7 separate regions of the Homo sapiens genome follow, and regions 1, 2, 3, 4, 5 and 7 are each linked to region 6. The links are contacts of gene promoters, found by promoter capture Hi-C in blood cells and fetal thymus (Javierre and others, 2016). All regions are on one chromosome and are shown on one strand. The core of a region is centred on a gene start or on the middle of the fragment in contact, and the rest is flanking DNA. Distances in the headings are between cores, read along the strand shown. Region 1 overlaps TMPO (thymopoietin). Region 2 overlaps MYBPC1 (myosin binding protein C1). Region 3 has its middle 11 kb from the start of GNPTAB. Region 4 overlaps DRAM1 (DNA damage regulated autophagy modulator 1). Region 5 overlaps GNPTAB (N-acetylglucosamine-1-phosphate transferase subunits alpha and beta). Region 6 holds the start of DEPDC4 (DEP domain containing 4). Region 7 overlaps GNPTAB (N-acetylglucosamine-1-phosphate transferase subunits alpha and beta).

What was found. The method cuts DNA at HindIII sites, captures the fragments that hold promoters and counts their contacts. A CHiCAGO score of 5 or more calls a contact.
Region 1: a contact is called between a fragment that was not itself captured here and the fragment with the promoter of DEPDC4 in region 6, in 1 of 17 cell types (total CD4 T cells). The highest score is 6.7, in total CD4 T cells.
Region 2: a contact is called between a fragment that was not itself captured here and the fragment with the promoter of DEPDC4 in region 6, in 1 of 17 cell types (total CD4 T cells). The highest score is 6.1, in total CD4 T cells.
Region 3: a fragment that was not itself captured here is called in contact with the fragment with the promoter of DEPDC4 in region 6 in 1 of 17 cell types (total CD8 T cells); the score reaches 6.4 in total CD8 T cells.
Region 4: a fragment that was not itself captured here is called in contact with the fragment with the promoter of DEPDC4 in region 6 in 1 of 17 cell types (neutrophils); the score reaches 8.2 in neutrophils.
Region 5: a fragment that was not itself captured here is called in contact with the fragment with the promoter of DEPDC4 in region 6 in 1 of 17 cell types (activated CD4 T cells); the score reaches 6.7 in activated CD4 T cells.
Region 7: a contact is called between a fragment that was not itself captured here and the fragment with the promoter of DEPDC4 in region 6, in 1 of 17 cell types (neutrophils). The highest score is 6.6, in neutrophils.

Annotation. Positions count from the first base shown.
Region 1 is chr12:98,549,213-98,551,912 of GRCh38, forward strand. It overlaps TMPO (thymopoietin), which reads left to right. Exons shown (of 9, transcript NM_001032283.3): 9 at 1-1,139. Among named protein-coding and RNA genes, the nearest start is that of TMPO-AS1, 34 kb to the left of the region's middle. The HindIII fragment of the contact is 893 bases long and covers 826-1,718 here.
Region 2 is chr12:101,671,825-101,674,524 of GRCh38, forward strand. It overlaps MYBPC1 (myosin binding protein C1), which reads left to right. Exons shown (of 32, transcript NM_002465.4): 25 at 1,603-1,798. Among named protein-coding and RNA genes, the nearest start is that of CHPT1, 24 kb to the right of the region's middle. The HindIII fragment of the contact is 220 bases long and covers 1,150-1,369 here.
Region 3 is chr12:101,840,827-101,843,526 of GRCh38, forward strand. No RefSeq gene overlaps it. Among named protein-coding and RNA genes, the nearest start is that of GNPTAB, 11 kb to the left of the region's middle. The HindIII fragment of the contact is 459 bases long and covers 1,131-1,589 here.
Region 4 is chr12:101,882,309-101,885,008 of GRCh38, forward strand. The region is part of intron 1 of DRAM1 (DNA damage regulated autophagy modulator 1); the gene reads left to right. Among named protein-coding and RNA genes, the nearest start is that of DRAM1, 6.1 kb to the left of the region's middle. The HindIII fragment of the contact is 3,451 bases long and covers 1-2,700 here.
Region 5 is chr12:101,817,194-101,819,893 of GRCh38, forward strand. All of the region lies in intron 1 of GNPTAB (N-acetylglucosamine-1-phosphate transferase subunits alpha and beta), which reads right to left. Among named protein-coding and RNA genes, the nearest start is that of GNPTAB, 12 kb to the right of the region's middle. The HindIII fragment of the contact is 1,634 bases long and covers 622-2,255 here.
Region 6 is chr12:100,265,629-100,268,328 of GRCh38, forward strand. DEPDC4 (DEP domain containing 4) reads right to left here and starts at 1,451. Exons shown (of 10, transcript NM_001364818.2): 1 at 1,292-1,451. The coding sequence starts at 1,448. SCYL2 (SCY1 like pseudokinase 2) reads left to right here and starts at 1,549. Exons shown (of 18, transcript NM_017988.6): 1 at 1,549-2,164. RefSeq lists enhancers at 1,294-1,373, 2,044-2,113, 2,124-2,183 and silencers at 1,744-1,793, 1,894-1,973. The HindIII fragment of the contact is 4,398 bases long and covers 1-2,398 here.
Region 7 is chr12:101,780,724-101,783,423 of GRCh38, forward strand. All of the region lies in intron 5 of GNPTAB (N-acetylglucosamine-1-phosphate transferase subunits alpha and beta), which reads right to left. Among named protein-coding and RNA genes, the nearest start is that of SYCP3, 43 kb to the left of the region's middle. The HindIII fragment of the contact is 3,177 bases long and covers 1-2,700 here.

The sequences.
Region 1 (2,700 bases), core at 22-2,521, 1.7 Mb before region 6:
TGATTATTTTTTATTTTTTTATTTTTTATGAGATGGAGTCTCACTCTTGTCACCCAGACTGTAGTGCAGTGGCACGATCTGGGCTCGATGCAACCTCTGCCTCCCAGGTTCAAGCAATTTTCCTGCCTCGGCAGAGACGGGGTTTCACCATGTTGGCCAGGCTGGTCTCGAACCCCTGACCTCAAGTGATCAGCCCACCTCAGCTTCCCAAAGTGCTGGGATTACAGGTGTGATCCACTGCACCCGGCCGGCATTATGATTTTGTGTACTCTTGAAATGGTTATCTTTGTGGATGATTTTTTTTTTTAAGCTGAAACTTACCTCATGAATAACTTGATTAAAGTAGTAGGTGATTAAAATTTCAATAGAATCAAATGAGACAAAAATTTTAAACTGACTCATTTGAGTTTCAACTTTACAGTCATTGACCATAAAGCACACTAAAAATGTAAGTTATTTTTAAATACATCTGAAATAAAAATACTTACTAAAAAGGAAGAAGCCGAAGATGTATATTTAGACCAGCACACAATTTTGATTTCAATTAGCCTTATTCTAATATTTAGCTTTTAGATCTTTCATACACATTTTCACGTACTTTGCAATTGAGACCAGAAAGACTTGTAGGTCTTTCTGCAGAATGAGTGGGTCCTTGCAAAGTGAGTGGGAAACTTACTCCTAGATCAGAAATGTTTGCCTCTCTGAGTAAAATGTTTCTTTCAGATGAGCCATAGAGGGGGCACCTTTTACTCAACTTTTCTTTGTTTTGAAACTTTGTTTCCCATACTGTTTTCAGCCTTTTGTTTATAATTAGAAATTGTGAGAAGCTTCATTTAGTGTTTAAAAATGTGGGGAGATAAATCAGACTTAACATGTATGTAAGATCAATTCACTTAAAAGTATGGTCCAAATAGCAAAAATAGGACCAGGTGAAACATGTAGTCATTTTTTAAAAACATGTACTTGGTCTTTTGTGTGTGTCTGTTTTATTCCATTAGAATAAATGTGTCCTTGATGTAAATGCAAAGCATTTCTTCCTGATTAAATTGTAGATGTAGACTTTACAATATAATTCAATAATAAAAAGTAATTAACCTCTAGTTTTGTCGTTGCAATAAATGGTTTTCAGATAGCACAAACTGTGATTTCTGGATAACATTTCTTATGTGATATTTATGGATTATTGTGTTTTATTTCAGTCTGTTCATATGTTTTACTTCTTATTGTAATCGGGTTCTCGTTTATTCAAAGGTAAGCAATGTGTAGCTACTGTACTCACAGAATGACATTAAGCGCTCCAAGGCACCTCTCCCACACCTAGTTCCTTTTTCCCACCACTTTTACTGTCTTTAGTATTTACCTATGACCCTTATGATTGTTAGTCTTGCTTTGAGACTAAGCCCGTGTCACTGTGATACGTCATGGAGCTGTGCTCACAAGATGAAAGTGCCATTATGTCTTCCTCATTCATGTGTCCCCAGAGGTGATTTGACTTAAATTAGTGTTTCTCAAGGTAGTATAGACACCATAATTAATTATAAGGCAAATCGCATCAAAGGCTTAAAACAACAAGTTTTATTGCATGCTTACCATGTGCTAGGTACTTTTCTATGTGCTTAATATGTATTGATTCACTCAATCCTCACGATAATCCTATGGAGTAGGCATTTTCGTAATATCATTACAAATGAGGAAACTGATGGTTAGAGGTGTTAGGAAGCTTCTTCATGTTTGCACACAGCTGAGAAGTGATGGCTCTGGTTGCATATAATATGGCAGAGGGAACCTAAAACAAACAATTCTCTGTTTACATGCTTTAAACCAGTTCTGTGTTCAGCCCTGCTCCTTTCACAACTTTGGTGGTGCCTTCTGAGTTTCAAACCTCTGAAGCGTTCTTTTGGGTAAAGTAGCTCACTCCTAGTTTTTCTTGTTTTTGTTTTTGTTTTCTTTGAGACAAGGTCTCACTTAATCTTTCTCTGTGGCTATTTAAATCTTCTGGCCAGGTATGGTGGCTCACACCTACAATTCTAGAACTTTGGGAGGCCGAGGCAGGCAGATCACCTGAGGTCAGGAGTTCAAGAGCAGCCTGGCCAACATGGCAAGACAATTTTTAGTCTCTACTAAAAATACAAAAATTAGCCAGGTGTGGTGGTGGGTGCCTGCAATCCCAGCTACTCGGTAGGCTGAGGCAGAAGAATGACCCGAACCTGGGAGGCAGAGGTAACACTCCAGCCTGGGTGACAGAGTGAGACTCCATTTCAAAACAACAACAGTAATAATAAATTTAAGCCTTATTTAATTTTGCTAATTTTTCTGTTTCTTAATCTTTTTTTTTTTTTTTTTTTTTTGACAGAGTCTTGCTCTGTCGCCCAGGCTGGAGTGCAGTGGCGCCATCTTGGCTCACTGCAACCTCTGCCTCCAGGGTTCAAGTGATTCTCCTGTCTCAGCTTCCCGAGTAGCTGGTACTACAGGTGCGCCGCCATGCCCAGCTAATTTTTGTATTTTTAGTAGAGACGGGGTTTCGCCATGTTGGGCAGGCTGGTCTTGAACTCCTGACCTCAAGTGATCCTCCCAAAGTGCTGGGATTACAGGCGTGAGCCACCACCCCTGGCCTAATTTGTTTTTGTTTGTTTTTTTTTTATCTTCCAGGCAGCTTTTTGAAGTATCTTTTGCTATCTCACTCTACCTCTTTGTCATTGT
Region 2 (2,700 bases), core at 10-2,509, 1.4 Mb after region 6:
CTGTTCAGCCCCCAGGAAGGGAGATGAGACCAAAGTGTGATGTTTGTATATTTGTGTAATCTCTAGAGTTCGCAAACATTTTCTCATTTGATCCTCAGAAACACCCTGTGAGGCAGGAAGGCCAGATTTCCTTACCTTGCTTGAGAAGGGAAGAAACTGAAAGGGAAGTTAAGTGACTTGCCCAATGTCACACAGAAAGTCAATGGTAGGGCCAAGAACAGAGTCCATGGCCCGGTCACTTAATTCAGTGGTTTTTTCCACTCTGTATATTATTAGAGAACCCACATTTTTCCCTAGTGGCTAACAGCAAGTTGTACATTTAAGGAAATAAGCTTGAACTGTTTTTCCCTATCTTCAACAACGTCGTTCTCTGCTTCCCATGTGTGAGTCTGAGCATCCCCAACCACTCTTCAGGCTCTGAAGCAGGGGTTTGGTGTGTAGCTCTACATCTCTTATTATAACCTAGCCATGTTCAGAGCCCACAGGAAAGCTGTGCCTTACCTGACAGAATTCATGCTTGGTTCCTGTCTGCCAGGGTACGCCTGGATGCTTGGGGATTCTAGGAAATTCCTTTGTAATAGAAATGGAAACTCAGGTTCATGAATGGGATTATGATTTCTTAAATTCTGCTCTTAAAGAATAGTTTCAACAGCGAGAGGGAACAGAGAGAGAATTCTAGACAAGTCTAAAATGAGCAGCACAGGACAGTAGAATAGTAATCATTAACATTTAGATGATATTGGCCGGGCACGGTGGCTCACACCCATAATCCCAGCACTTTGGAAGGCTGAGGCGTGTGAATCACATGAGGTCAGGAGTTCAAGACCAGCCTGGCCAACTTGGTGAAACCCTGTTTCTACTAACAACTAAAAAAATTAGCCAAGCATGGTGGTGCGTGCCTGTAAACCCAAGTACTTGGGAGGGTGAGCAGGAGAATCCCTTGAACCCAGGAGGTGGAGGTTGCAGTGAGCCAAGATTGTGCCACTGCACTCCAGCCTGGGCGACAAGAGCCAAACTCTGTCAAAAAAAAAAATTTAGATGATATTAACTACAAAAACTTATGTATTGGGCAGAAGCTTTCTCAGCACTTTAATCTTTATAACCACTCTTTGAGATAGGTACTACCATTATTCCCGTTGAGGCACAGAAAGCTTAGTAACTTGCCCAGGGTCACACAGACGTTAAGTGGTCAGGAGCTAGACATAGATTCCAGGGCCCCAGAGCCCATGCTCTTAACAATTATCCTGTGTTGTGCAGGCTTTTGGAGACTAGGAGACCCAGCTGGGAGACCTGGTTCCAGTGCTTACCTAACTGCAGGACCTTGGACAAATTATTTAACTTCTCTATCCAAAAAATGAGGATAATGATAAGCTTGATGTGAAGATTAAGGAAAATAATCAATGTTATGTACCTAAGGTAGTGCCTTGCACATAAAATACAGATTACAGCTTTGCTGCTGTAATTGCTCACCACCAGACTAGAAGGGTGGTATTTTCCAGCCCTGCCTAGAATGGGTTAAGCCACTGTCCTTCTCATAATGCTGAAGAAACATCTTGAGACAATATGATTTACCCTCTCTACTTTTGCTGTCTTTCTTTTTAGGGAAAACCAAGACCAGAATTAACTTGGAAGAAGGATGGTGCAGAAATTGATAAGAATCAAATAAACATTCGCAACTCTGAGACTGATACAATCATATTTATTAGAAAAGCAGAGAGGAGCCACTCTGGGAAATATGATCTGCAAGTCAAAGTGGACAAATTCGTGGAGACCGCATCAATTGACATCCAGATCATTGGTAGGTTTAGATGAAGGAGCCAGAAAGTTCTGTCAAAGCAGTACAGGGATGAATTGTCCTTGTCCCTAAGGCAAGAGCAGGAGTTTTGTTAGGCTGGCTCTACATAAAACTCTTTTTTTAGATTTATTTTTTAAAAATAGATAAATTAGGCTGGGCGTGGTAGCTTACACCTGTAATCCCAGTACTTTGGGAGGCCAACGTAGGCGGATCACTTGGGGTCAGGAGTTCAAGACCAGCCTGGCCAACATTGTGAAGCCCCGTCTCTACTAAAAATACAAAAAGTAGCTGGGCATGGTGGCGTGCACCTGTAATCCCAGCTACTCAGGAAACTGAGGCAGGAGAATCGCTTGAACCTGGGAGGTGGAAGTTGCAGTGAGCTGAGATCATGCCACTGCACTCTAGCCTGGGTGACAGAGTGAGACTCTGTCTCCAAAAAAAGGACAGTAAGATTTGTTACCATTTCAAAATGAATTCTCACCAACTCAAAGGACTAATCACAGGAGATTTAAGGCATATATGTTCAAGAAAATTAATGGATGTGCTTTTTAGTGAAATCCTTCTGCACTATTCTATAACCCAGCTGTCTCTTTCTCTTAGTTTCTCATCTCCCTGATGATAAAATTATTTCTTATGTTGAATTCTTACATTCTAGACAGTATAGATTCTAGCTATAGTTTAACATGTTTCTTACTACACCTAAAATTTGCTAATGAAGTTTTCATGGAGAATGAAGAATTTTTTTTAATATTAATATAAGGAAGATGTACCTAAGCAAAATTGAACAGTTAAATACTGAATTCTTTGATCCTGCCAGAGTAGTTAGATACGTACCTGCCCAAAAAATAAATAAGGTTAGTTCTTACTTCTGTCCAGAGTCAGGGGAATAGAGGAAGGACCCCTTG
Region 3 (2,700 bases), core at 110-2,609, 1.6 Mb after region 6:
CTGAGATCAGGAGTTCAAGACGGACCAGCCTGGCCAACATGGCGAAACCTCGTCTCTACTAAAAATAAAAAAATTAGCCAGGCCTGGTGGCGCATGCCTGTAATCCGAGCTACTCAGGAGGCTGAGGCTTGAGAATCGCTTGAACCCGGGAGGGGGAGGTTGCAGTGAGTCGAGATTGTGCCATTGTACTCTAGCCTGGGTGATAAGAGTGAGACTCCATCTCAAAAAAAAAAAAAATTAAATTAGCTAGGTGTGGTGGTACAGACTTGTAGTTCTAGCTACTTGGGAGGCTGAGGAGGGAGGATCACTTGAGCTGAGAAGTTTGAGGTTACAATGAGTTGTGATAGCACCACTGCACTCCATCCTGGGCAAAAGAGTAAGACAAAAGAAAAGAAAAGAAGGAAAGGAGGAAGAAAGGAAGGAAGGGAGAGAGAGGGGGAAAGAAAGAAAAAGAAAGAAAGAAAGAAAAGAAAGAAAGAAGAAAGAAAGAAAGAAAAAGAAAAAGAGAGAGCGAGAGAGAGAGAAAGAAAGAAAGAGAGAGAGAAAGAAACAAAGAGGCTGGGCTCAGTGTTTCACGCCTATAATCCCAGCACTTTGGGAGGCCAAGGTGGGCGGATCACGAGGTCAGGAGATGGAGACCATCCTGGCTAACATGGTGAAACCCCGTCTCTACTAAAAATACAAAAAATTAGCCGGGTGTGGTGGCAGGCGCCTGTAGTCCCAGCTACTCGGGAGGCTGAGGCAGGAGAATGGCGTGAACCCCAGGAGGCAGAGCTTGCAGTGAGCCGAGATCAGGCCACTGCACTCCAGCCTGGGCAACAGAGTGAGACTTTGTCTCAAAAAAAAAGAAAGAAAGAGAGAAAGAAAGAAAGAAAGAAAATTCCCTCTGTGTATTTTTCTGTCTGTCTTGTCTCTCCTGTCTCCCCCTTAGTTCCTAATTTCTTCCCTGTTTAAGTTCTCACAAACCTCAGGATCAATATGAAGTCCACTGTGATGTACTTTGCAGAATCTACCTATTTGCAAAAGCTAACTCCTACCCTCATCTTTGTACCTGGTGTTTGAAAACTGGATCAATTTTCTGATCTCCAAGCATTTGGAACTTTCTTTAGTTTTCATCTCCTTAAAACCAAAGCTTCCAACCCCACCGGAAACAAACAAACAAGCAAACAAAACACCCAAAGCAGTGAGCACTCAATATATATATTTGATTATCCATAAATGCTGATTCTCTAATTCATTGCAATGTCAAGTTCATAATTAAATAGGGAGACTTTTGCATTTTGCATAGTCTGCTTTCCAGAATACTGTCAGGGATACTCTGATATTTTGCTATAATGCTTTGGCAGTGCTCTAGATGTATTAAACTCACTGTAACCAATCCCAGGAGCACAGTAAAAGTCCAAGTGATGCCAACCAACAAGGAAATTTCAGAGTTAATTTATCCAAAGTATAAATATCACAGTGAAAGAGTAATAACTGGTGCTTCTGACATTTTAGGCTAAAGGAACGAATAAATGAATGTGGCAAGAACCCCTAGATTATACCAAAAGAAGGGTGAATAATTATTAGGGTTAGTGTGAATAGAGAGAAGCTTATGAAAAGGAAAAAGATTTTCTGTTGTCTTTTCTTCTGTCATCAAGTTCGAACCAGCTGCAGGTTTATCTCAATTGCTCTGCTATGAGGTGCACGTAAAACAAAAAGATTCTAAAAGCTACATTATAAGTCCCTTCCAATGTGGACAGCCCTATTCCTTTCCAAGGCCTATATATTCTTTGGATTCTTAGTTTAAAGCAGCAACATTAAAATTGTAAATGAGATAAGGCAGGACTGGTTTTACCATTTTCACATCTTACATCATATTAACCTAGATTCAAAGTAAAGTCATTCTTGTTGGATTTATTTTCGTGTCACACAATATGCAGATTCACCACTAATTAATTTTGAGAATTCTCCTCTAGAAACGTGCTTTTTTATTAAGATAAATTTCTCTCAAATAAGGTTAAATAAACAAAAAATCATGGGTCAAAGCCTCATTGTCTGCTGAGCAATCATGTATATTGCTTTAATTATTCTTCCTCAATTTCCTTGAAAATTCTCTATTTAACTTTATTGAGATTATAATTAAGATCCTATAAAATTAGGCCAGGCGCGGTGGCTCATGCCTGTAATCCCAGCACTTTGGGAGGCCAAGGCGGGTGGATCACAAAGTCATGAGTTTGAGACCTAGGCCAACATGGTGAAACCCCATCTCTGTAAAAAAAAATACAAAAAATTAGCCAGGCATTGTGGCGTGGGCCTGTAATTCCAGCTTCTCAGAAGGCTGAGGCAGGAGAATAGCTTAAACCCAAGAGGCAGAGTTTGCAGTGAGCCAAGATCGTGCCACCGTACTCCAGCCTGGGCTACAGAGCAAGACTTTGTCTCAAAAAACAAACAAAGAAACACACACACACACACACATATACACACACAAAACAAGATTCTATAAAATTGACCCATTAGCTGGGTACAGTAACTCACATCTGTAATCCCAGTATTTTGGGAGGCCAAGGAGAGAGGATCATTTGAGCTCAGGAGTTCCAGACTAGCCTGGGCAACATAGTGAGACCCATTTCTACAAAAAAAAAATTTTTTTTAATTAGCTAGGCATGTTGGCACACACCTGTAGTCCCAGCTACTTGGGAGGCTGAGGTGGGAGGATTG
Region 4 (2,700 bases), core at 170-2,669, 1.6 Mb after region 6:
ACCATGTTAGTCAGGATGGTCTCGATCTCCTGACCTTGTGATCCGCCCGCCTCAGCCTCCCAAAGTGCTGGGATTACAGGCGTGAGCCACCGCGCCCGGCCCCTGATGGTCTAATGTTTTTAGCACAGTTGAACACTTTAAATAAGAGCCACAACCATAAGGAGGACCTCTCCCCAGTATGGCATTTAGAATCAGCTTCCTTATCAGATACTTTCTCCTTGTAACATTGTTATTCTTCAGCATATTGGATAAATTGGCAAATGGCTCTTATACACATGAAAAGATACTCAACTTTATGAATAGGAATAAATATTCAAATTAAAACTCACTGATGCCAGTTGTGATCTAGTGGGTTAGCAGAAACCCAAATGTTTGATACTAGTACTGGTGAGAATATGGGGAAACAGTCTCTCTCATACATTGCTTACAGGAACGTGAATTGATTTCAGTCTCCATGGTGGGACTTGGGCAATATCTATGGAAATGACAGATACACACACACCCCCCCATCATTTGATGCAACAGCCTTTTTTTTTTTTTTTTTTTTTGAAATTTATCCTATAGGTGTACATGCCCATGTGAAGAATGGCATTTCTGCAGAGTTACTCAGGGCATTGCTTTGAATAACAAAAGATTGGAAACTACAAATGACTATCAGTAGAGAATTGCCTAAATAAATATGGTTTATTTATTAAAGGATACTTCAAGTGAAAGCTCTCTGTACCTAGCAGATTTTTACGTCAATACACTTATATGGAAAAATCTCCAAGATACATTGTTACATGGGAAAAAGCAAGATGCAGAACAACCTATGCTCTCGTTAGTTAAGAAAAAAGAGGAGAAAAATAATATATATTTGCATTAGCTTGCATAAAGAAACTAATGAAAGTGGTTTATCTGTGTGTGATGGAGGGAGGAGTAGGTCAAGGTCAGTGAGACATTGGCAGATGGGGAAAAAGGATAATTATAAGGCATACTTTTTTGTTTTATTTTTTACCCAAATAGGTTTTTTTTTTTTTTTTTGAGATGGAGTTTCACTCTTGTTGCCCAGGCTGGAGTACAATGGCACGATCTCGGCTCACCACAACCTCCGCCTCCCGGGTTCAAGCGATTCTCCTGCCTCAGCCTCCTGATAGCTGGGATTACAGGCACGTGCCACCACACCTGGCTAATTTTTTTGTATTTTTAGTAGAGACGGGGTTTCACCATGTTAGCCAGGGTGGTCTCGATCTCCTGACTTCATGATCCGCCCACCTCGGCCTCCCAAAGTGCTGGGATTACAGGCGTGAGCCACTGCGCCCCGCATGAATGTTTCCTATCAGAAAATTAAATTAAAAACATGAGGCCGGGCGCAGTGGCTCACTCACGCCTGTAATCCCAGCACTTTGGGAGGCCAAAGCAGGCGGATCACGAGGTCAAGAGATCGCAACCATTCTGGCCAACATTGTGAAACCCTATCTCTACTAAAAATACAAAAATTAGCTGGGCATGGTGGCATGTGCCTGTAGTCCCAGCTACTCAGGAGGCTGAGGCAGAAGAATCGCTTGAACCCGGAGGTGGAGGTTGCAGTGGACCGAGATTGTGCCACTGCACTCCAGCCTGGTGATAGAGCGAGACTCTTTCTCAAAAAAAAAAAAAATAAATAAATACAAAATAAAAACATGGGACCAACCACCGTGAGATATAACAAGTTAGAATAGCATAAAGTGATATTTCTTATTCTGAAACCATTAACAAAAGCATATCAAAAGGAAGGACAAATAAAAGCTAATCTCAAAAAATTAGTTTAGATTTGCACTCGGGTGTGGTGCCTTATGCCTGTAATCCCAGCACTTTGGGAGGCTGAAGTGGGCTGATCACTTGAGTCCGGGTGTTTGAGACCAGCCATGGGCAATATGGTGCAACCCTGTCTCTACAATACATACAAAAAATTAGCTGAGCGTGGTAGGATGCACCTACAGTCCCACTTACTCAGGAGCCTGAGTGGGAGGATCACTTGAGCCTGCAGTCTGAGGCTGCAGTGATCACTCCAGCTTGGGTGACAGAGTGATACCCTGTCTCAAAAAAAAAAAAAAAAAAAAAAGATTTGCACACGGCCACACCCACATTCTCAAGCCAAATCATGCTTAACTTGTTATAGTTTCTTATCAAATTATTAACTTTTTCCAGCTGATAGATCACTGTCTTCCATCTTCTTTTTGGCATGTGTCTCCTGCCATGATATCTTGCTCATGATATTCTGTGATCCTTTACTCTTCAGTGTTGCCGATTCTAGATCCTGGCTTTTCTCTTTATTAGCACGTCTCACTTTCCATGTGAATACAGTTTTGTGGGATAGATTGTGGCCTTTGGCCACCCATATTGTCCTACCTCATGACCCCATAATCTCTGCTCAGTAGTTGATGACAGAAAACTGGGTCACCTAGAATCAAGCCACTTTAAAAGGAGGAACAAAATTGCAGAGTAAATGAAGTAAAAGAAGTTTGGTCAGGTCTTTAACTTCAAAAATGATACTAAAAATTAGGAAAATAACGATTTTAACTTGCATTTATGTAACAATCACAAATTTTGGGTTATGACAAGTGTGTGTTAAATCTTCAGATGCTGATCTTTATAGAGAAAATGTTTTTTTTTTTTTTTTTGAGATGGAGTTTCACTTTTGTTGCCCAGGCTGGAGTGCAATGGCGCAATCTTGGCCCA
Region 5 (2,700 bases), core at 189-2,688, 1.6 Mb after region 6:
GTTCCCAACACAAAGAAATGATACATGGTTGAGATGATGGATATCCCCATTACCCAGATTTTATCATTCCACTTTTTTTTTTTTTTTTTTTTTTGAGACAGGGTCTCACTCTGTCACCCAGGGTGGAGCAGTGGCACAATCATGGCTCAATGTAGCCTCAATCTCCTGGGCTCCAGTGATCCTCCTACCTCAGCCTCCAGAGTAGCTGGGACTACAGGCACGTGCTACCACACCTAGCTAAGTTTTGTATTTTTTTGTAGAGATGGGGTTTTGTCATGTTGCCCAGGCTGGTCTTGAACACCTGAGTTCAAGCAACCCACCCACCTAAGCCTCTCAAAGTGCTGGGATTCAGGTGTGAGCCATTGCACCCAGCCTGATCATTACAGATTGTATGCATGTATAAAAATATCACATGTACTCCATAAATGTGCATAACTATTATATAGCCATAATAATTAAAAATTAAAGTAATTAATTTTTTAAATAGCTAGCCAAGGTGACACATGCCTACAATCCCAGCTATGGGGAGGCTGAGGTGGGAGGATCACTTGAGCCCAGGAGTTCAAGACCAGTCTGGGGAACATAGCGAGATCCTGTCTCAAAAAATAAAAATATCAAAAAAGCTTGTGGATTCTGAAGCATTATACTTGATGTGGGATTTTCACCCCGTCTCCTGTTGCCCGTTTTCCCCCACCTGCAATTCATCTTCCACATTACCTCCAGAGCAACTGTTCTAAGCACAGATTTTATTTCATCACTCTCTTCCTTAAAATCCTTTGATGGTCCCCATTTTCTTCAGGATGAATTCACATTCCTTAGTACCACCCAGCAGGCAAGTCCTAAACTGGCCCCTGCCTGCCTCTTCGGCTTCATTCCCCTGTCACTCCAAAGATGCTGCAGCCCTTTAGAACTACTTTTGTTCTTAGAAGTTAATAATGTCTCATATCCATACCTTTACACCAATGGCATCTTTTCCTTAAGAAACAAAACAAACAAAAACACTCCCCTTCCTTTACTCAGCCATCTCCTTCCAGACCAAGCTCAGGTATCACACCATCTGAGAAAGTGTGCTTGGCACTGCATTCATCACAACACATTTCAAGTTTGCCTACTTGCCTGTCCACCTCCCTGCCTGGACTATGAGTTCCTCCAGAGCAGAAAGCAACTTAAATATATTTGTGTCTTTTTTTTTTTTTTTTTTGGAGACAGAGTCTTACTCTGTTGCCCAGGCTGGAGTCCAGTAGCACGATCTCGGCTCACCACAACCTCCATCTCCCAGATTCAAGTGATTCTCCTGCCTCAGCCTCCCAAGTAGCTGGGATTACGGGCACCTGACACCACACCCGACTAATTTTTGTATTTTTAGTAGAGATGAGGTTTCACCATGTTGCCAGGCTGGTCTCAAACTCCTGACTTCAGGTGATCCACCCACCTCAGACTCCCAAAGTGTTGGGATTATAGGCCTGAGCCACCGTGCCCAGCCCTTTGTGTCTTTAGTCAACAGTAGACAACCTGGCTAATATAGTTTGCCTGTGTCCCCACCCAAATCTCATTTTGAATTGTAGCTCCCATAATCCCCATGTGTCATGGGAGGGACCTGATGGGAGGTAACCGAATCATGGGAGTAGGCTTTTCCCATGCTGTTCCTGTGATAGTGAGTAAGTCTCACAAGATCTGATGGTTTTATAAAGGGCAGTTCCTCTGCACATGCTCTCTTGCCTGCTGCCATGTAAGATGTGCCTTTGCTCCTCTTTCCCCTTTCACCATGATTGTAAGGCATCCCCAGCCATGTGGAACTGCAAGTACATTAAAACTCTTTTTCCTTTTTTTTTTTTGAGACAGAGTCTCGCTCTTGTCGCCCAGGCTGGAGTGCAATGACACGATCTTGGCTTACTGCAACCTCCACCTCCCAGGTTCAAGCAATTCTCCTGCCTCAGCCTCCCAAGTATCTGGGATTACAGGTGCCCGCCACCACACTTGGCAAATTTTTGTATTTTTGGTAGAGACAGGGTTTCACCATGTTCGCCAGGCTCGTCTTGAACTCCTGACCTGAGGTGATCCACCTGCCCCGGCCTCCCAAAGTGCTGGGATTACAGGCATGAGCCACCATGTCTGGCCTAAACCTCTTTTTCTTTATAAACTACCCAGTCTCGCGTATGTCTTCACAGCAGTATGAAAATGGACTAATACACTGGCCCAAAGTGAACACCTCCATAAGCCTGTCACATGAACAACTTCTGAAAATTTGCTTTAGAAGCTTTATCTAATTGGGAATTAATGAGAGACAGAAATGAAGTGAGAAAATGAAGGGGGGGAAAAAGGTTTATCAAAGGAAAAAGAAAAACTAGAATCCTAAAAAAATGAAGCAATTTTGAGAAGTAATCTTAAAGTGGGCAATATGGTTTTTAGTCTGATCATAGAATGAGTTTCACTCCCTGAATGAGTGTGACCTGACCTGGTCTTTCTGAAAGATCACTTTTTCCTGTGTAATTTAGTATGCATACGAATCACACATAGGCTGACTAATCAACTGCTGAAGATTCTGCATCTGTATCGCAAGATGAGAACAATCTAAAGAACAGCAGAAATTTTAAAAAGATATATCATGAATATATATAATCTATTATAGTTACACCTGTTATATTTTAGAAGGAACTATAGGAAGCCTACATATATTAGTATACAGTACAAGCTATATTA
Region 6 (2,700 bases), core at 201-2,700:
ACCCTTACTATAGAATAGTAGCCAGCCATTAGAAAGAATGAAGTAGAGCTATGTTTATAGTGTGCAAGGATCTCATTAAGTAGGGAAAAAGAAAAACCCAAAACAAAAATTTTTTAAAAATGAGCTGAGCAGAACAACTTGTATATTATTATCCTACTTAGGTAAAAATGAATTCCCAACCTATGTAAAAATGTATGTAAATAAATAGAAAGATCTGGAAGAATAAACTTCAAACGAGTAACCTTGGGGAAGAAGGATTGTAATGGTGGCTGATGAAAGAGGATGTACCCTTTTAAAGTGTACAATTCAGTGTTTCTAGTACATTCACAAAGTTGTGCAGCCATCACTATTATCTAATTTCAGACCATTGCATCATTCCACAAAGAAACCTATAGTTCGCAGTCATTCTTCATTCTTCCGTACCCCAGTAAAATTTTAATTAAAATTAAATTTAATTAAAATTAATTAAAAAAATTAAAGAATGATAAGGGAATAACTTAGAACTTCTAGAATGTTTTTTCTAGATTTGCAGGGGGAAGTGGGTAGAATCCAAGAACTTAAGCTCTCTTCTCCAACTATGCATAACCGCAAAAGTATGCCCAACTATACATATGTTTACGATAAAATGACAGAAATAAAAATCCACCACCCTCAAATTCCTTCTGTAACAGAAGTTACCCGTCTAATCACTCAAGAAATCTTATCCCCAGACATTGTGGGCAGAGCGGAGACTGAGGAGGGGAGGCCAGAAAGTGATGGGCGGAGGTGGGCAGGAGGGTACTCGACGGGGTAGGTGGAAAATACAGCGGTACAGCCTGTTTTCCATAGACAGTCTACCTCTCTAACCTTCATTAAACAAGTAGGCTAGATTAAAGAAATAACTCCTCTAGCTCAAGGAATTTGCCCTCTAGTACATTAACCCCTTGTTGCTGTAAGTGTAGCCTAGGGACCAGCAGCATTGGTGCCATCTGGACATGTATTAGAAACGCAGATTATCAGACCCTACTCCTCAATCAGAATTTGCACTTTCACAAGATCCTAGGGATTCGTATGTATATTAAAGTTTGAGAAAAAACGCTTTCCTGCACGCTCCAAGGGCACTTCACCACAGTAACCCCTAAAAAGCCTCAGTCCTGGGTCCCCCAGTCCAGTGCCTGGTAGGGCAGGAAGGGGGCGGGGCTAGGAAATGGGCGGGGCCCTGGACCAATGAGGAGCAGAGTCCCAGCCGCCTGCTCCCTTCAGCTGCCCCCTCCACCTTCACTGCACATTTGGCTAGGATATACAGGGCTACCTGTCCTCCTTTTCCGGCAGAAGCCATCTCTACGGTTCCTGGAACTTGGCCCGTTCAGCCCTGGGCCCGGAAGCTCGTTCTGACTGACAAGTCTACGGAACCTCGGAGTCAAAAGAACCGCCATAAGCTCGCGCGCTGGCTCCTCCCCTGGCACCATAGCCCCGCCCCACCTGACACCCGGGGCGGAGAGAAGTACTGGCTCCGCCTCTTCCGAACCGGCAGGAAGTGACGTCATGCCCCCGGCCGGCAGGTCTTTTAGTCTTTTTCCCCCTCCCTTACTCTTCGTCCCCGGTCCCTCCCCTCCCCACCCCTTTCCTTCTAGCTCCGACGTTTGCGGCCGCGGGGGCGGCGGAGGATATGGAGTAAAGCCAGAGTCAGTGGCCAGGCACGAAGGCAGAGCAGGAACAGCCAGGAGGCGTTTATTAGGGGGGCGGGGGGAAAGAGCCCCAGCACCGCCCCTCCTGGAAGAAGGAAGAGGTAAGTGACCGGCCGCCGGCACCGACCGACCTCCCTCACCGGCGGCTCTCTCGCCTGGGCTCCCGGAGCCGGCGAGGAGGGAATGGAGGACTCGCGCCCGGGTTAGGCCTCCCAGGGCCGCTCAGGCTGGTGGGTGTTGCCTGGTGACGGGCCTGCCGGCGGCCGGCCGGGCGATCGGCGGTCGGCGCCCGCGCAAAGCGGGGCTGGACGAGCAGCGAGCTCCGGGGAGCGGATCCGAGAGGGCCGAGTCCTCGAAAGAGGCCTTGAGGCGACGGGAGACCCGGGATCGAAGTCAGCTGCCGGAGGGAGAGCCCCCCATGCCGGCTCGAGAGCTCGGGTTTCGGTGGTGGAGAACGTAGTACCTTTCGGGGACATTGGACACTACTCTAGGACCGGGTGAGAGAGTTCACCTCAGTTCTGAGGTCCGGAATCCGGTAGCCTGGGTCACCAGCCAGGGCCCTGCCGCCCGCCGTCCTTCTCTGACAGTAGCTTTAGTTCTGGAATGGAAGGTTATTGTGTGTGAGGTGGGTGGGGCAGGGGTTTTGTTAAGAGAAAAAACCCCACGGTTACTCCTGCAGTCTTGTTTTTCTAAACGGGAGAATACGGATGGAGGAGGGTTTAGACCGATAAAGCTTGCAAAAACTTATTGGACTTTGAGCACATACCTGTGATCCGTAATTAAGGAGGCCATATTATCAAATCCACCCTCTAAGGCACTCGAGGAGGCTCCAGACAAGCTGCTTAAAAGCGCTATGCCTGTAGTGACTTCATTGGAAGGTGTCAACTATTTTTTAGTACGTCAAACTCAGGAATTATTTGTGATGACACTTTCTAAAAACATTGGATACTATGAGTGAGTTTTCTAAGTAGCCTATCTCCGTTCTGAAAAATAAATAGTTTAGCAAAAATGCTCCAAATCAGCCTGCCACTGT
Region 7 (2,700 bases), core at 1-2,500, 1.5 Mb after region 6:
TAATATATGGTCCAAAAAAAGGAAGCTGAAGGAGACAAAATTAGCCCATTCAACAAAAGGGGAACAATGTAAATCAGTGTACGTTGAAATGTTAAATTTCACAATACCAAAGGTGATTGACATAAAGGGAATTCTTCATGGGAGCAGTCAAATTTAAGCTAGAATGCGAAGACAGAAATGATAGGATGATAGAAATCACAGATGTATATGCAAAGACAGGGGGAAAAAGAAAGAATTGTTTGACTAGAGTAAAATATTTGGGAGTGGTGAGTACTAGGAAACAAGGGTAACCAAAGGGGCCCTTGAACACCAGGCAGTGGCATGTATGTTAACAGCAGGGGGCTACTATGGATCTTGTGGTTCCTTAAGAGGCACAGTTTTCTCATAATGAATCCCCAGTTCATTGGGTGCTGCTGAATGGAGCATCATAAGTCACAGTAGGGATTGGGGGTGACACAGCCCAACTGGGAGAGAGTTAGTGATGGGGACAAGTGAGATCAACAAACTCACTGCTGACATTCAGGGATTGTGGAAAACAAAAGAGAGGTCAGAAAGCTCCAATTCTGATCTTCAAGATAAACAAAGAAGGCAGGTTCTCCAAATTATAGCCTGATGAGATGAGATGTCAATCCTGGGCATGAGTCTCAAGTGTACTATAGTTACAGGGCACAGTAGCTCATGCCTGTAATCCCAGCACTTTGGGAGGCTGAGGCAGGAGTATCACTTGAGCCCAGAAGTTCTATATCAGCCTGGGCAACATGGCAAAACCCTGTCTCTACAAAAAACAAACAAACAAACAAAAAACACAAAAACTAGCCGAGTGTGGTGGTGTGCACCTATAGTCCCAGCTACTCAGGAGGCTGAGATGGGAGGATCATCTGAGCCCCGGAGTTGGGGCTGTGGTGAGCCATGATCATGCCACTGCACTCTAGCCTGGGTGACAGAGTGAGGCCTGGTCTCAAAAACTGAAAAAAAACAATATAGTTGGTGAGCACTGAGAAAAGAAAGCCTTCATAATACACTGTTTATCTTTAAAGGAAGCACTGGCTGTTAAGAGTATGAATTCATTACAACTTTATCAGATAAACTTTTCTCTCTCTCTTTCCATTGATATGATGAATTCTACCTAACAGACCTGGTATATGTATTTGTAATCTCAGCAAAGTAGCTAAGGGCATCTCATGTCATCTTCATGGATATAACAAAGACATACAGGCTCGATGCTCAGGTGGGCTAGAACTTAACCAATTCTACCAAAGAGGTGTAGGTAACAAAGCCGCAATCAACCTAGAGGGAGGTTTAGGAGATTAGTCATAGGTCCGGTCTTGCTGAACCCTCTATCAATGTTTTGGAAGTTACAGAAGGCATGCTTGTGAAATGTGTAGATTCATAGGAAGATGGCAGAGAAGCTATTGTCCTGGATAAGAGACTATGGATTTCCCAAATTTGTGACTATTTGGAGCAATGAGTCAAATCTGGCAAAATAAAATCTCCTATGAAGTAAAACCTTTATATATGGTACCAAAACCAACTACACAAGCATACACTAAAATAGGTATTTGAGCATTAGAATATATAAGTTTTTTTTTTAAAAAGATAAGTTTTACTCAACAGTGAGTTCAGTATGAGTCAACAATGTGCTGTGGCCACACTGAATTTCCATCACATTTTTGTGCTTTTAAACAGAAGTAAAGTACGTCGAATAAAAAAGGTGATGATGTTCTCTAACACCGAGTCATTAGGAAACCCTGTTGGGTTGACCTTCAAAATGTCCAGAATCCAACCACTTCTTATCTTCACTGCACCTCCCTGGTCTAAGCAACCTTCCCTCTTGTCTGAATTATCACAACTTTTGCCCCTCCTCAGTCTATTTCCACCAAAGAAGCCAGATTGACTGCCTGGAATGTAAGTCAGATCACATTACATTTCTACTCAAAACCCTCTGGTGATTCCTCATCCTACTCCAAGTTAAAGCCAGGTCCTTGTTATGGTTACTAGGGCCTACACTATTTGGTCCCCTGCTTACTTCTTCAGGTTCATCTACTGCCTGCCTCTGTCTTGTTCACTCCATTCCAGCCACACTAGCCTCCTGGCTTTTCTTCAAACATGCCAGATACACTCCTGCCTCAGGGCCTTTGCAATGGCTATTCTACTTACCCAGATCAGTCTTTCCCCAGATATTCGCATTGCTGGCTACCTCACCTTCTTCACATTTCCACTCAAAAGTCACCTTCTGAGTGAGCAATGTCCCTACCATCCAAATTAGAATTGCAACCCCCTGCCCTGGCCGACACTTCCTCTGCTGCTGCCCCTGCTTGGTTTTTTTCTAAAGCATTATCTTCTATAAACTATGTAATCTACTTATTTATCGTGTTTACCGTCTGACTCTCTGACTCCCTCCACCAAGATGTAAACACAAGGTAAGGGTAGAGATTTTTGCCCATCTGTTCCCTGCTGTATCTTCAGTACAGGGAACAGTACCTGGCACACAGCAGGCACTTAATAAGCACTCATTAAACAGACAGTCCTGCTCTCCCTGCCAAGACAGAACCACACTAAAATAGAATGTTCACTTCCCATTGACACATTTTAAAAGTAATCTGAGAAGAGCAAACTGGGACACTGACAAGTCCCTGAGAGACAGCCAAAGAAAGGAAAATAAAATGTCCCAAGGGAGAGGGATTACGTGAGTTCTGTGTG